Linked DNA regions of Homo sapiens: region 2 is linked to region 1. The links are contacts of gene promoters, found by promoter capture Hi-C in blood cells and fetal thymus (Javierre and others, 2016). All regions are on one chromosome and are shown on one strand. Each heading gives the region's core, a stretch centred on a gene start or on the middle of the fragment in contact. The rest is flanking DNA. Distances are from core to core; before and after follow the strand shown. Region 1 overlaps OR4D2 (olfactory receptor family 4 subfamily D member 2). Region 2 holds the start of VEZF1 (vascular endothelial zinc finger 1).

The links. Contacts are between HindIII fragments. The CHiCAGO score rates a contact against its expected background, and 5 or more counts as called.
Region 2: a contact is called between the fragment with the promoter of VEZF1 here and a fragment that was not itself captured in region 1, in 4 of 17 cell types (total CD8 T cells, non-activated CD4 T cells, naive CD4 T cells and 1 more). The highest score is 7.1, in total CD8 T cells.

Annotation. Positions count from the first base shown.
Region 1 is chr17:58,167,636-58,173,654 of GRCh38, forward strand. OR4D2 (olfactory receptor family 4 subfamily D member 2) reads left to right here. Exons shown (of 2, transcript NM_001004707.4): 2 at 2,003-3,481. The coding sequence starts at 2,021. The coding sequence ends at 2,944. Among named protein-coding and RNA genes, the nearest start is that of OR4D2, 3.7 kb to the left of the region's middle. The HindIII fragment of the contact is 727 bases long and covers 2,826-3,552 here.
Region 2 is chr17:57,985,901-57,991,919 of GRCh38, forward strand. It overlaps VEZF1 (vascular endothelial zinc finger 1), which reads right to left and starts at 2,354. Exons shown (of 6, transcript NM_007146.3): 1 at 2,179-2,354. The coding sequence starts at 2,211. It overlaps LOC101929185 (a long non-coding RNA gene), which reads left to right and starts at 2,210. Exons shown (of 1, transcript XR_001752716.3): 1 at 2,210-5,134. It also overlaps a transcript of SRSF1 not described here. RefSeq lists silencers at 1,617-1,686, 1,767-2,246, 2,317-2,596 and enhancers at 2,747-2,796, 2,817-2,956. The HindIII fragment of the contact is 4,468 bases long and covers 1-4,200 here.

The DNA.
Region 1 (6,019 bases), core at 1,939-4,438:
GCTGTGAGCAAATCAAATATTATAACAATGAGGAATATGATCACATCTGAGTCAGAGGGGTCTCATGGACAGCTGTGTAGAAGGTGTCCTGGAGTGAGGCCAGGCGCGGTGGCTCATGCCTGTAATCCCAGCACTTTGGGAGGCGGAAGCGGGCGGATCACGAGGTCAGGAGATCGAGACCATCCTGCTAACACAGTGAAACCGTGTTACAAAAAAAATTAGCCGGGCGAGGTGGTGGGCGCCTGTAGTTCCAGCTACGCGGGAGGCTGAGGTAAAAGAATGGCGTGAACCCGGGAGGCGGAGCTTGCAGTGAGTGAGCCGAGATCGCGCCACTCCAGCCTGGGCGACAGCGAGACTCCGTCACAAAAAAAAAAAAAAAAAAAAAAAGAAGGTGTCCTGGAGTGGAAGTAAACTGAAGGAGCAGAATAAGATTAGAATGACCTATAATATTGTAGATAATAGATTGCAATAGGCCAGGTAAGAGAGGGTAAGAGAGATTGAGACAGGGCAGGGGGAGGGGGGAGACCACTGACCCCCTCCCCTGTCACCCTCCATCTTCTTCTTCTTTTTTTTTTGTTTTTGATTTTTTGAGACAGAGTCTCGCTCTGTCACCCAGGCTGGAGTGCAGTGGCATGACCTCCACTCACTGCAGCCTCCAACCAGCTTCAAGCGATTCTCCTGCCTCAGCCTCCCAAGTAGCTGAGATTACAGGTGTGTGCCACCACGCCCGGCTAATTTTTTTGTATTTTTAGTACAGATCCGGAGTTTCACCATGTTGGCCAGGCTGGTCTCAAACTTCTGACTTCAAGTGATCCATCCGCCTCCGCCTCCCAAATTTCTGGGACTACAGGCGTGAGCCACCTCTCCCGGCTCCTCCATCTTCTTCTGTCCCTTTAGTCCCGTTTTCTCCACCTCCCCAGCACTTTTCCACTTCCTTTACCTTCACTTGCTCTATTCCTTCATCTCCCTTTATTCCTTTGTCTATTTCTATTTGTTTTCTTTCAACAACTTCCTTTGTCTCCCACCCTTGGATTCAGTAACATCTTGTAAAATTCCTGTTTCATTCAGAAGCTCTCTGAGTCCCCTTCATACAATATTCATCATCTATTTCTCAATCCAATGACTCTCCCTCCCTTTTCTCCCTCTTGTCTCAGCACCACCACATATGCCTCACTCATAAGGGGCCGCCCACAGTGGAGGGCAGGGGAACTACTGGATGTCTCAGGCATCCAGCTGCATCCAGTGTCTTCCTTGTGCTGAACTTGTGCACCTGATAGCTATTCACCCATGCAGCAGTCAACACCAAGAGCTTTTTAAGTTAACTGTCATTAAGAATGGGTACTGCAGGGCACAAATAAATTGTGAGATCCAGATATAGGCTTTGGACTTAATAGTTGAATTGTGGAGGGAAAATATAGACAAGGAAAATCCATTAACACGATGATGTATTAAATGTCATGTGAAAAATAATTGGCAAAGAATCTTATTACAGAGTGGAAGAGAGGATATCTTTAGATTAAGAGAATTCACACAGGTGAGTAATTGCCATTGATTATTCCATACACTGTTTTAGGAACTTTATATCTATCATTCTACTTAAGTCCTCAGAAAATTCTACAAAGCAGGTATTTTTATTTCTACCTTACAAATTCCCGTGAAAACTGAGGCCCAGAAAGATTAAGTAAGTTACTCATGGTCAAATCACAATGAAATGAAAGACCTGAAATTTGACTTCAGATGTATCTGACTCCAAGTGTCTTCCCACCACTATATGAATCTTTGAAAGGCAGGTTGTATATACTTCTGGATGGCGTTAAGATTTCAGGAATGTATATTCCAGCACCCACTTGTAAACGATCCAGAGACAAGACAGCACCTAGTATAATGGTCTACACATAAGGATGCTCATCATATGGGCCTAAAACCTTGGTTCTGAGCCCCTGAGCCCTGAAAGGGAAAGTAGTGACTTCATGTATCTGTGTCTGTGGTTCATTTTCTTCAGGTGTATGGAGAAAACACCATGGAAACAGGGAACCTCACGTGGGTATCAGACTTTGTCTTCCTGGGGCTCTCGCAGACTCGGGAGCTCCAGCGTTTCCTGTTTCTAATGTTCCTGTTTGTCTACATCACCACTGTTATGGGAAACATCCTTATCATCATCACAGTGACCTCTGATTCCCAGCTCCACACACCCATGTACTTTCTGCTCCGAAACCTGGCTGTCCTAGACCTCTGTTTCTCTTCAGTCACTGCTCCCAAAATGCTAGTGGACCTCCTCTCTGAGAAGAAAACCATCTCTTACCAGGGCTGCATGGGTCAGATCTTCTTCTTCCACTTTTTGGGAGGTGCCATGGTCTTCTTCCTCTCAGTGATGGCCTTTGACCGCCTCATTGCCATCTCCCGGCCCCTCCGCTATGTCACCGTCATGAACACTCAGCTCTGGGTGGGGCTGGTGGTAGCCACCTGGGTGGGAGGCTTTGTCCACTCTATTGTCCAGCTGGCTCTGATGCTCCCACTGCCCTTCTGTGGCCCCAACATTTTGGATAACTTCTACTGTGATGTTCCCCAAGTACTGAGACTTGCCTGCACTGACACCTCACTGCTGGAGTTCCTCAAGATCTCCAACAGTGGGCTGCTGGATGTCGTCTGGTTCTTCCTCCTCCTGATGTCCTACTTATTCATCCTGGTGATGCTGAGGTCACATCCAGGGGAGGCAAGAAGGAAGGCAGCTTCCACCTGCACCACCCACATCATCGTGGTTTCCATGATCTTCGTTCCAAGCATTTACCTCTATGCCCGGCCCTTCACTCCATTCCCTATGGACAAGCTTGTGTCCATCGGCCACACAGTCATGACCCCCATGCTCAACCCCATGATCTATACCCTGAGGAACCAGGACATGCAGGCAGCAGTGAGAAGATTAGGGAGACACCGGCTGGTTTGAGAGTGACAATGGTAGGTTTCTTCTCTTTGGCTTTGTTTTCCCTTTGTGAAGTGGAGAGGGAGCTACTACCTTTGCTCTCTTCATAGTGTGTTGAGGTTCATCATAGCAGGGAATGAATTTTGAAACTAAGCAACTTCGTGTTTTAGGAAAAAAGAAAGTATCCTCTTTGGTGGTTAAGGTTTGTGATAAAGAGTTTTAACACACTCGCAACAATGAGAATTGTTCACATGGCCCCTGAAAACCACACCTTCCTTTTCACCTTCTTGGTGGACAGTTTCCTGTTGACAGCATTTCCCCTGTGCGAACATTTCTATTTTCCGTATTTTGAGCTCTCTTCCCAATATTTCCTTTTGGTGTGAGTCTGGGTTGTTGGGAACAGCACAGAATTTGGAGTCTTAAGCTCTAAATTAGAGGCCCTGACCCATCATTGACCAAACTGATGACTTCGAGTAAGCCACCCAGCTTTTCTTGGCCTCATGATTTCTCCCTCACCAATTTGCTTAAATTAGTATGTGCCCCTAAAATATTCTATGTTTGTTATGAGATTCAAATAAAAAAATTTTGTGATAAAACAACAAGTAAATCATATAACTATATGTTATCTTCCAAGCTTTTAAAAATGATTGTATTTTATTTTCAAATATGAAATTATTATGAGTATTCAAGCTTTTTCTCTCTATATTTACATTTTAATATAATATACAAATTTTGAATAAAAGATCATGGGCAATGCATGCACATTATGAAACTTATGTCATTATGTATAAATGCTCATGTATACACTACTCGATTCAAGAACCAGAAGTTACCAATAACTTGCCTTCACCTGTATTGTCCTCTCCATTGTGTTCACCTTGATTCCTATCCAGAAGAAATCACTCTGTTGAATTTCATGTTTATCACTTCATTGCTTGTATAAAATAGTTTCATCACTTTTTTTACATAAACAGTATATTGTTTTGCTACTTTGGAGTTTTATAAAGATATTGTACTGTACATAATATTCTGGGATTTGCTTTTTTCACTCCATGTTATGTTTCTAACATAACATGTTGATGTTTGGCTCTAATTCATTCATTTGCTCTGCTGTAGAATATTCCACTGTGAAAATAAGTTTATTTGGGTTGTTTCCAGGTTTTGGCTATTGGAGAGTGCTTTTTTTGAGACGAAGTTTCACTCTGCTGCCGAGGCCGGAGTTCACTCATCACCACACCCAGCTAAGTTTTGCATTTTCAGTAGAGATGGGGTTTCTCCATGTTGGAGTTGTGACCATTATTGCCTAAACTATTTTTACTGCGCCTTTCTCTCCTCTTCTTCCAGGATTCTCATTATGTGTGTGTCTTGGTATCCTTGATGGTGTCTCACAGGCTTCTGAGCCTATGTTCATTTTCGTTTATTCTTCTTTTTGCTCCTTAGACTGGATGATTTCAATTGACCTATAATATCTCTAGACCTCTGATTCCGAAATGCCATCATAGAGGAAAATTGGATTCACTCCCCGACTTCCACAGAACCAAAAACAAATATATAGCACTGAGATCTACACCAGAAACAACCCAGAGCTCAAGTATAAGAGTGAGACAGTTCTTGGGGCCACAGAGGGATGAAAAAAGTCCAAGCAGCTGATAGGAGAATCAGACTTCCACATCTGGGACACCCCTCATCCCCATTCTGTCCAGCACCAAGTGCCAAAAAATCTCCTCCCAACTACAGTTTCTACACTGGAAAAACTGAAATTGAGGTGGCCCACCAGCTTCCTTACCTTCTTGGGGTCCCTGGCAGGAGAACTGTTCTTGCCTTAATCCACAGATAGCATCATGACTGCCTGAAAGAAGAAATGTCCCCGAAGAAAGGCAGAGAAATTCTGCTCTGTAACTCAGCCAAAGGAGACACCAACTCAGAGTTGCTGTCCAGCAGCACCATGCTGTAGGAGGCATGTTCCCCAGGTCCCCTGGGCACAAACCCCTAGCCAGACTTCCCACACTGCCAGGATAATCTCTTTGGGATCTCCTTGATTTGAGACAGGAAGTGCTTCAACCATTTACTAGTCCTGAGGTGAACCTGGGCTTAAGGCACCACCTAGAGTCGAATAGAGGCAGTGACCTAGCAGTGAAGATTCAATAAGCAAATGTATTCAATAAAAACCAAAACAAGCTGTACAGAGAAAACTGGAAAGATGGATACATACCCACAAGAAACAACAGCAAACAGGGAACTATGACTTCCTCAAAAGGAAAAAGCAAAAATCCAGTCACTGATCCTAACAAGATGGTGATTAGTGAGCTCTCTGACCAAGAATTCAAAATAGGAGTTTCAAGGAAACTCACTGATCTCCAAGAAAACACAGAAAAGCAATTTAGAAATTTAACAAAGAGACTGAAATGATTCCAAAATGTCAAACAGAAATCTTGGAACTCAACTAACCTATCTTCAGATTCATTGATTTTATTTTTATTTTTTAAGACAGTCTCACTCTGTTGCCCAGACTGGAGTGCAATGGTGTGATCTTGGCTCACTGCAACCTCCGCCTTCCAGTTTCAAGCAATTCTCCTGCCTCAGCCTCCTGAGTAGCTGGGGCTACAGGCGCGTGTCACCACACCCAGCTAATTTTTGTATATTTAGTAGAGACAGGGTTTTACCATGTTGGCCAGGCTGGTCTTGAACTCCTGACCTCGTGATCAACCCGCCTCGGCCTCCCAAGGTGCTGGAATTACAGGTGTAAGCCACCAGGCCCAGCTGATTCTTTCTTCTACCTACTCGAAAGCTCCTATTGAAACCGTCCTGTGAACTTTTCATTTCAGTTACTTTTATTGTACTTTTCAGCTCCAGACTATTTCTTATTTTAAATCAATTTCTCTCTCTTTTTTGATATTTTCTATGTAAAACATTCTTCTTCCTTTAATTCTTTACCCATAGTTTACTCTATGTTCAAGAAAGTTGCTTTAAAGTCTTTGTCTAGTTAAGTCAAATGTCTGTTTTTTCTCAGGAAGTTTCTGCTAATTTCTTTTCTTCCCTTGAAAGGGCCATACTCTCTTGTTTGTTTGCATGTCTCATAATATTTTGTGAAAACCGCAC
Region 2 (6,019 bases), core at 1,104-3,603, 180 kb before region 1:
GCTCCAGGAAACAAACAAGATAATTTAACTCCATATCCCCAGTGAAAATTACTTAAAACCAGAACTGATTAAGTCTATTCATACCTTTCCATAGAAAAGACTGAAATATTCTCTTTACCCATTCAACTGCTCTCGGCTCTAAATTTTAAGTTTTCCAACAAATTTCACTGCACACATTGCCAAGCCCAGGATTAAATATTTGTTTTCACACTTCTCCATCAGGTGGAAAAAAAGATTTTAATAGCTGAAAAAAATTAAATAATATAAAATCTAATTAAAAAGTTGATCAATAAACGCTTGGCATTTGTTTTACCCAGGAGAAAAATAATCTTTAAAAAAGTATTTCAAAAGATTTTTCAACCAGCTTTCCAAAGATGTGTTATGGGTTTTTCCTTTACATGAAGAACACTTTTTTTTTTCAATCTCTATAGACACCATGCTTAATATGGTTTTTAATCACACGAAAATCACTTCAGTGGCACATCAATCCCATATTTTAAAATAACCATTTGAGCTTTTTTCTGGGGAAAGTATTTGCCACCTTTACACCAACCTGGATGCATGCTAGTTATATATCATTTCTTTTCCAATGCATTTTCAAGTTGGTTTATCACATTATTAGCAAGCTCATCAAAGTACAATAAAACAACACTGATCAGAATGAGAAAAGGGGGAAGTTCATGAATTCCATAATGTTGGGTATTTTAGATTTTAAGAAGCCCAAATATATTTCCATAACTACTTAAAGATCAAATTGCCCACATTTGAAAAAATATGTCTTAAAACAACAGGCCAGTCTACACAGTAGGTAATTTCTGAGTTATCCAATTCTCTATATTAACTCCACTAGGATGAATCCAGTGGCTGGGAGAATAATTTTTTGAAAATTCTGCATCCGTTCCTGTTAGTTTCAAAAGGTATCAAGCGCCCCAGCTACGCGTTTGGGATTTCACGAAGTATTCAAAGGAAAATAACTCAGAGAGGCGGGAAGAACGCACTTAAAAGTGACGAGCTTCCTAACCTCCTCCAGTTCCGAAGTTTCCCCGTGAGCTCATCGCTACTGCCCACTGAATGCTTCGTTTTGCAAACAGAAACGAAGTAGGAAAAAAATAAGTTCCAGCCTAGATCTGCCAAACAGGGGTCCCCCATCTAAAGTGGGCGGGCAAGAGAATTGCCAAAACACATCGGCTACAGTCACTTTCAAGTTTCTTGCAAAAAAGCGAAGACCAACATCCCAGAGAGTGACTCATCTGGGGGCTTTGTAAGCGGACTTTGTTTGCTCTCTCCACTTGGTTGGAGGAAACGTTCGAGGTGGGCGAGAAAGAAAAGCGCTTCGGGAGAAGGTCGGGCCTCCAGGAGTCCCGGCCCCCACCGCTCCCCGCCTGCCCCGGGCCGGCCCGGCTGGGGGATTCCCCAGGCTGAATGGGACGGCGGGAGAGCTGGACAGAGGGAGAAGGTGTCAGCTGCCAAGGCTCGGCTGAGACTTGGGAAAAAAAAATGTAAATCCAGTGAAAAAGTTTGGGGAGGGGATACACACTCACAACATCCGCCCCCCCAACTGGGTAAACACGAGAGGGGTGGTGGCGGTGAGGGGGAGTGGCGGGGAACCTGGGGATACCCGCTATTCGCGGGGACACGGGAGGGGGTCAGAAAGTCAACACACGCACGCACACACACAAAAAGACGAGGAAGGTGAAAAGAGAACAAGCGAAAGATGGATGAAGTGGCGGGGAGGAGACTCAGGGCAGGACCTGGGGACCTCCTCACCCCACCGTGGGGGACCGGGCCGGCACGCAATGGCCCAGCAGCCCGCGCTATCCAGCGGCCCGGCGCCCTCCTTTCTCTGGGCCGCGGGGTGGTGACAGCGACCGGCCTCCTCCCTTCCCCTTCAGAGCGAGAGGGAAGGGTGTGTGTGAGTGTGTGTGTGTGCGTGTGTGTGCTGGGGGGCCCCCGGGTTCACCCCGCGGCCTGCTATCTCCCCCGCACCCCGTGAGGCCGCCTCCTTTCACCTCAGCAGCCCCGCTTCGCCGGGGCGGGCGGGCGGAAAAACAAAGGGGGATTAAGGCCGGGCCGGAGAGCGGAGCCGGGAGGGAGGGGAGGAGGAGCGCCCGCCCGCCCGCCAGCCCGGGGCCCGGCCCCCCTGTCCCCCCCGTGCCCCCCCGGGGGGGCCCCCAGTACCTGGAACAGGAACGCGGTCCAGTTGGCCTCCATGGCTGCGGCGGCCGACCCCCCTCCTCCCCACTCCCCCCGCTCGGGGAGCCTCCTCAGCCGGAGGAGGCGACAACAAAGCGGCGGCGGCGGCGGCGGCAACGGCAGCGGCGGCTCCTCAACATGGCAGCGCCGAGCGCGGCCACTTCCGGTAACCTCCGGGACGCACCACCGCGGCGGCGAGCGCGGGCGGGGGGGGAGCCCCGGCCCGGCCGCCGCCGCCCCCAGTCGCCCGGACCCCCTCTGGGCGTCCCCGCTGCCGGCTCGCCGCCTCGGAGCTCAGCCAGTGCCCGCTGGCGGTGGGGTCAGGGCCCCCGCGGGGGGGCTGGGGTGGGGCCCGGGGCGGGGATGGGGCGCGGCGTCCCCCCCCGCGGGGGTGTGTGGTGCTGCGGTCCGTGGCTCAGGCAGCTGGAGCAGGGGGAGCTCAGGAGAGAAGATGGAGGACGCCAGGGTCTGGCGCTGGCCCGCTGGGCACAGCTGGGCCGTCTCCCGTGACTCAGACACGGTGTCCAGCACCGTCGCGTCCCTGTTAGACCCTCAGCGGAGGGCACAGGCCACGGCGGACACTCGGCTCTTCAGTCGCTCATGCACAGCATGGTCCCCACCTCCAAACTGGGGGAAGCCCTTTCGACTTCGAGCCTCTCTTCCTTTTGGCATTTCCTCCCCGGCCGGCTAAGCCCTCTGCGCTCTCGCTATGATATGCATCTCATGGCGAGATGGCCTTCCAACTCAAGCAGGGAATCCCACTGGGGTGCAGCCTCAGATCCTCTCAGTGTGGAGGGAAACACTTCCCACGCGTAGAGATGTCATTACTGGGTTATTCTTGGGTGAAGGGCTGAGCCTCCCCATCCTCCCCTTCACTCCAAGATAGGATGTGAAATTCTATCCCAACACCCCTCCTCTCCCGCCAAAAATAAAAACAAGTGAGATAGTATAGACAAATTATTTTAGTCCTTTAGTACAGTCTGTTTCCTCCTTCACCCCCAGAACAAAAATCGAACTTCTGGTTGGACAGCGTCAGATGTCACTGAGGTGACCCCAGCCTGTTTGCAGTTCCAAGTCTTCCGTGTAGGCGTCACTGCTACTGGAACTTTGTAGATGAGGAGCCTGTATGATGATGTCCTGAACATTTCTATCCTTTCCTCACACAGAGGGAAGCTACTGGGAATATCAGAGACAAGCTATTATTAAACAAGTGTCTCTAGTCCAAGACATCTCCTGTGGCAGGGAAATGAGGGGGCAGGCTGTATCAGTGATATTTTTATAAACTCTGGTTTTAGAAAAAATTCTTCAGATGGACGCATTATTTTAAGACTTTAACATTTTCCAAAACCAACTGAATCTTATCCCCTCCATTTATCCCCCTCCAGACACTTCTAATCAAGGTCACCATCTCCAACTTCCCCCATAGACAATAAAAATATGGCTGGAGAATTCTACTGTAATAGAAAACCAAGGAGATATAGTAATTTGACAGTGTGTTTCCTTTCCATCCACTAGACAAGAATACCCCCTCCCATTCTTTCCTCCCCTCAGTCACCAGAATGAAGGGGCTGGAAAACGTTGGTCTGGTTCCTTTTAGAGCTGATTCCCCATTGGATACTGCCTGGAGGCCTTGGGGATGAATGAGAAGTTCTGCAGTTTGGATCAGTAGCAGAAGCAGGTAACACATCAGGGAACCGGTCAGCCTAAGATAGGAGGGGACAGAAAATGATGAAAGAGTTTCTGATACATTTATCAGCTAAATTGCTATGGTCACCCCCATGTCTCCTGTAATGTCCAAACCTAAGGAATTAACTAAGTAAACTAAAACCTTTGTGTTCTTGCTCTGACCTTGGACAATGGAATTCTTCTTATTTTCATTCAGTGGATAGCAAATCTGCTTCTTCCCTGCCTTAACTCACTCAAGGTCTCTGTGATGCACTCCAGAGTTTTCCTCCTTCCCTGCATAGTCTTCTCCTCCCTAGCTGCCTTTCAAATTGGTGAAAATGAAGCTTCAGGATTATGAAAACTAGTACTTAATGAAGACCATTATTCTAATGACAATATCGCTGGACTCTTGAACTTGTTATGCTGGGATCTAGAAACCCTTTCCCCAGCAATCTTTCACACAGCACCTCTGGGAAGCGGTTTCCCACTAACAGGAAATAGAGGTCAAGTGGAAACAGTCCAGTTCTCATTACTGAAAAGCTAAGATTCAGAAGAATCACTTTTCTTGAGGAAAATGGCTAATTCTATTTCTATCCATAAGACAAAATCAGAATTGATTGCTCCTCAAACATTCTTTAAAAAAAAATTAACCTTTTAAGTTCATGTAAATTTTAAACACTGAGCTATTTTCCAGAAGGAAAATACTCAGAAGTTTGAAACAAGTACTCAAAAACAATCGGTTCCAACTGTTAGAGGAATATAATGAAACCAGTATGATCAAATGCTCCATCCTTACCTAGAAGGGGCTATTTCTACTTTTAGGACAGAAAATTTCTCTAACCAAACAAAAAGGAGCTCTCTCCTTAAGTGAGCTTCCACAGACTATATACTGGGGTCCAGTCAAAAGACAGATGTCCAAAGACAGCAAATTCATCTAGATTATTGTAAACAATTTTCGGTGAGTGAGTAAATGGTATTACCTTCAGCCATGATGAATAAAGCATCTAAGCCAAAAATACAATGTGCCTACATCTACCCAAACAAAAGTCAGATCCCCAACTTGCCCTGTTCAGGTTCCTCTCTCCTCCTCCCACACTCCAAGTTGTATAACCTGTCACCTAACCTTTTAGGGTCTCAGCTTCCTCATCTGGAAAATTAGAACAAAATATCTACCTCACAATGGTCACCTGTGGATTTAATGAGAAATATGTGTAAGATGCTTAGAACATTTTCCAGATATATAACAGATGTGAAATAAATATTTTTATTGGTGTTATCGAGTGGTTCTAGATTAACTTTGGGGCTTGGAACTCTGCACATAAGCTCTGAGCCAGTTAATTATCCCTTTTACTTTCGCCAAGTGACAGGTTTTCTCCCATCCATTTCTCCTTCAAAGAGCCCTAAGGTAAACGGGCAAAGGGCTAATGACACATAACAAAGGAAGATGCCTATTAAAATCTGTTGTTCTAAACACAACTTTTAGTAAACATTAGAAAGCAACAGGATATTTCCTTCCTCATTTGGAGAGAATTTTAAAGTCCTGTGAATACATTGAGGATGTGGATTACAGACTTAGAATCCTAGGAAAAGAAAGTATCTCTGCCGTTGTCAATTACCTGTCCCCAGCTAAGACTGCTCCACAAACTAAAAACAAATCCAAAACTTTCAGTAGGGAATATCTAGTTAGAAGCTTCAAATTGGCAAGTTAATGGACCAACTCTTTATGCAAAAAAGCCAGAACTGACAATTAACAAATTTAATAGTAAAAATCAAGATTGCAATATTTAGAAATACCAAAAAGTATTGGCCAGAAAGAAATAACCCTTCCATATCAGCCTCAATACAATCAGGAGAAAAAGCAACATATTTTCAAAGTGACACCCCCCCCATCCCCCCTTAAATACTCCAAACTCCTCAGGGAGGAAAGCAGAGGTTATCTCCTCACTGCCTGAACTGGATAAGCACACTAAGGGCTTTGAAGCCATTTGCCTTTTGCCTTTGACCCATGTGGTCAGAAGTCAGGTTTGTGTTTCAATTCTACCACCTGAAGTGTCACCAGGAGTTATTTAACTGGCAAGGTGAGGAAAGGGAAACAAGAATTCTTTTTCCTGAATACCCATTTAAGTTCCTTGACAACTGGAACAAAGTCATAGAGAGCAAA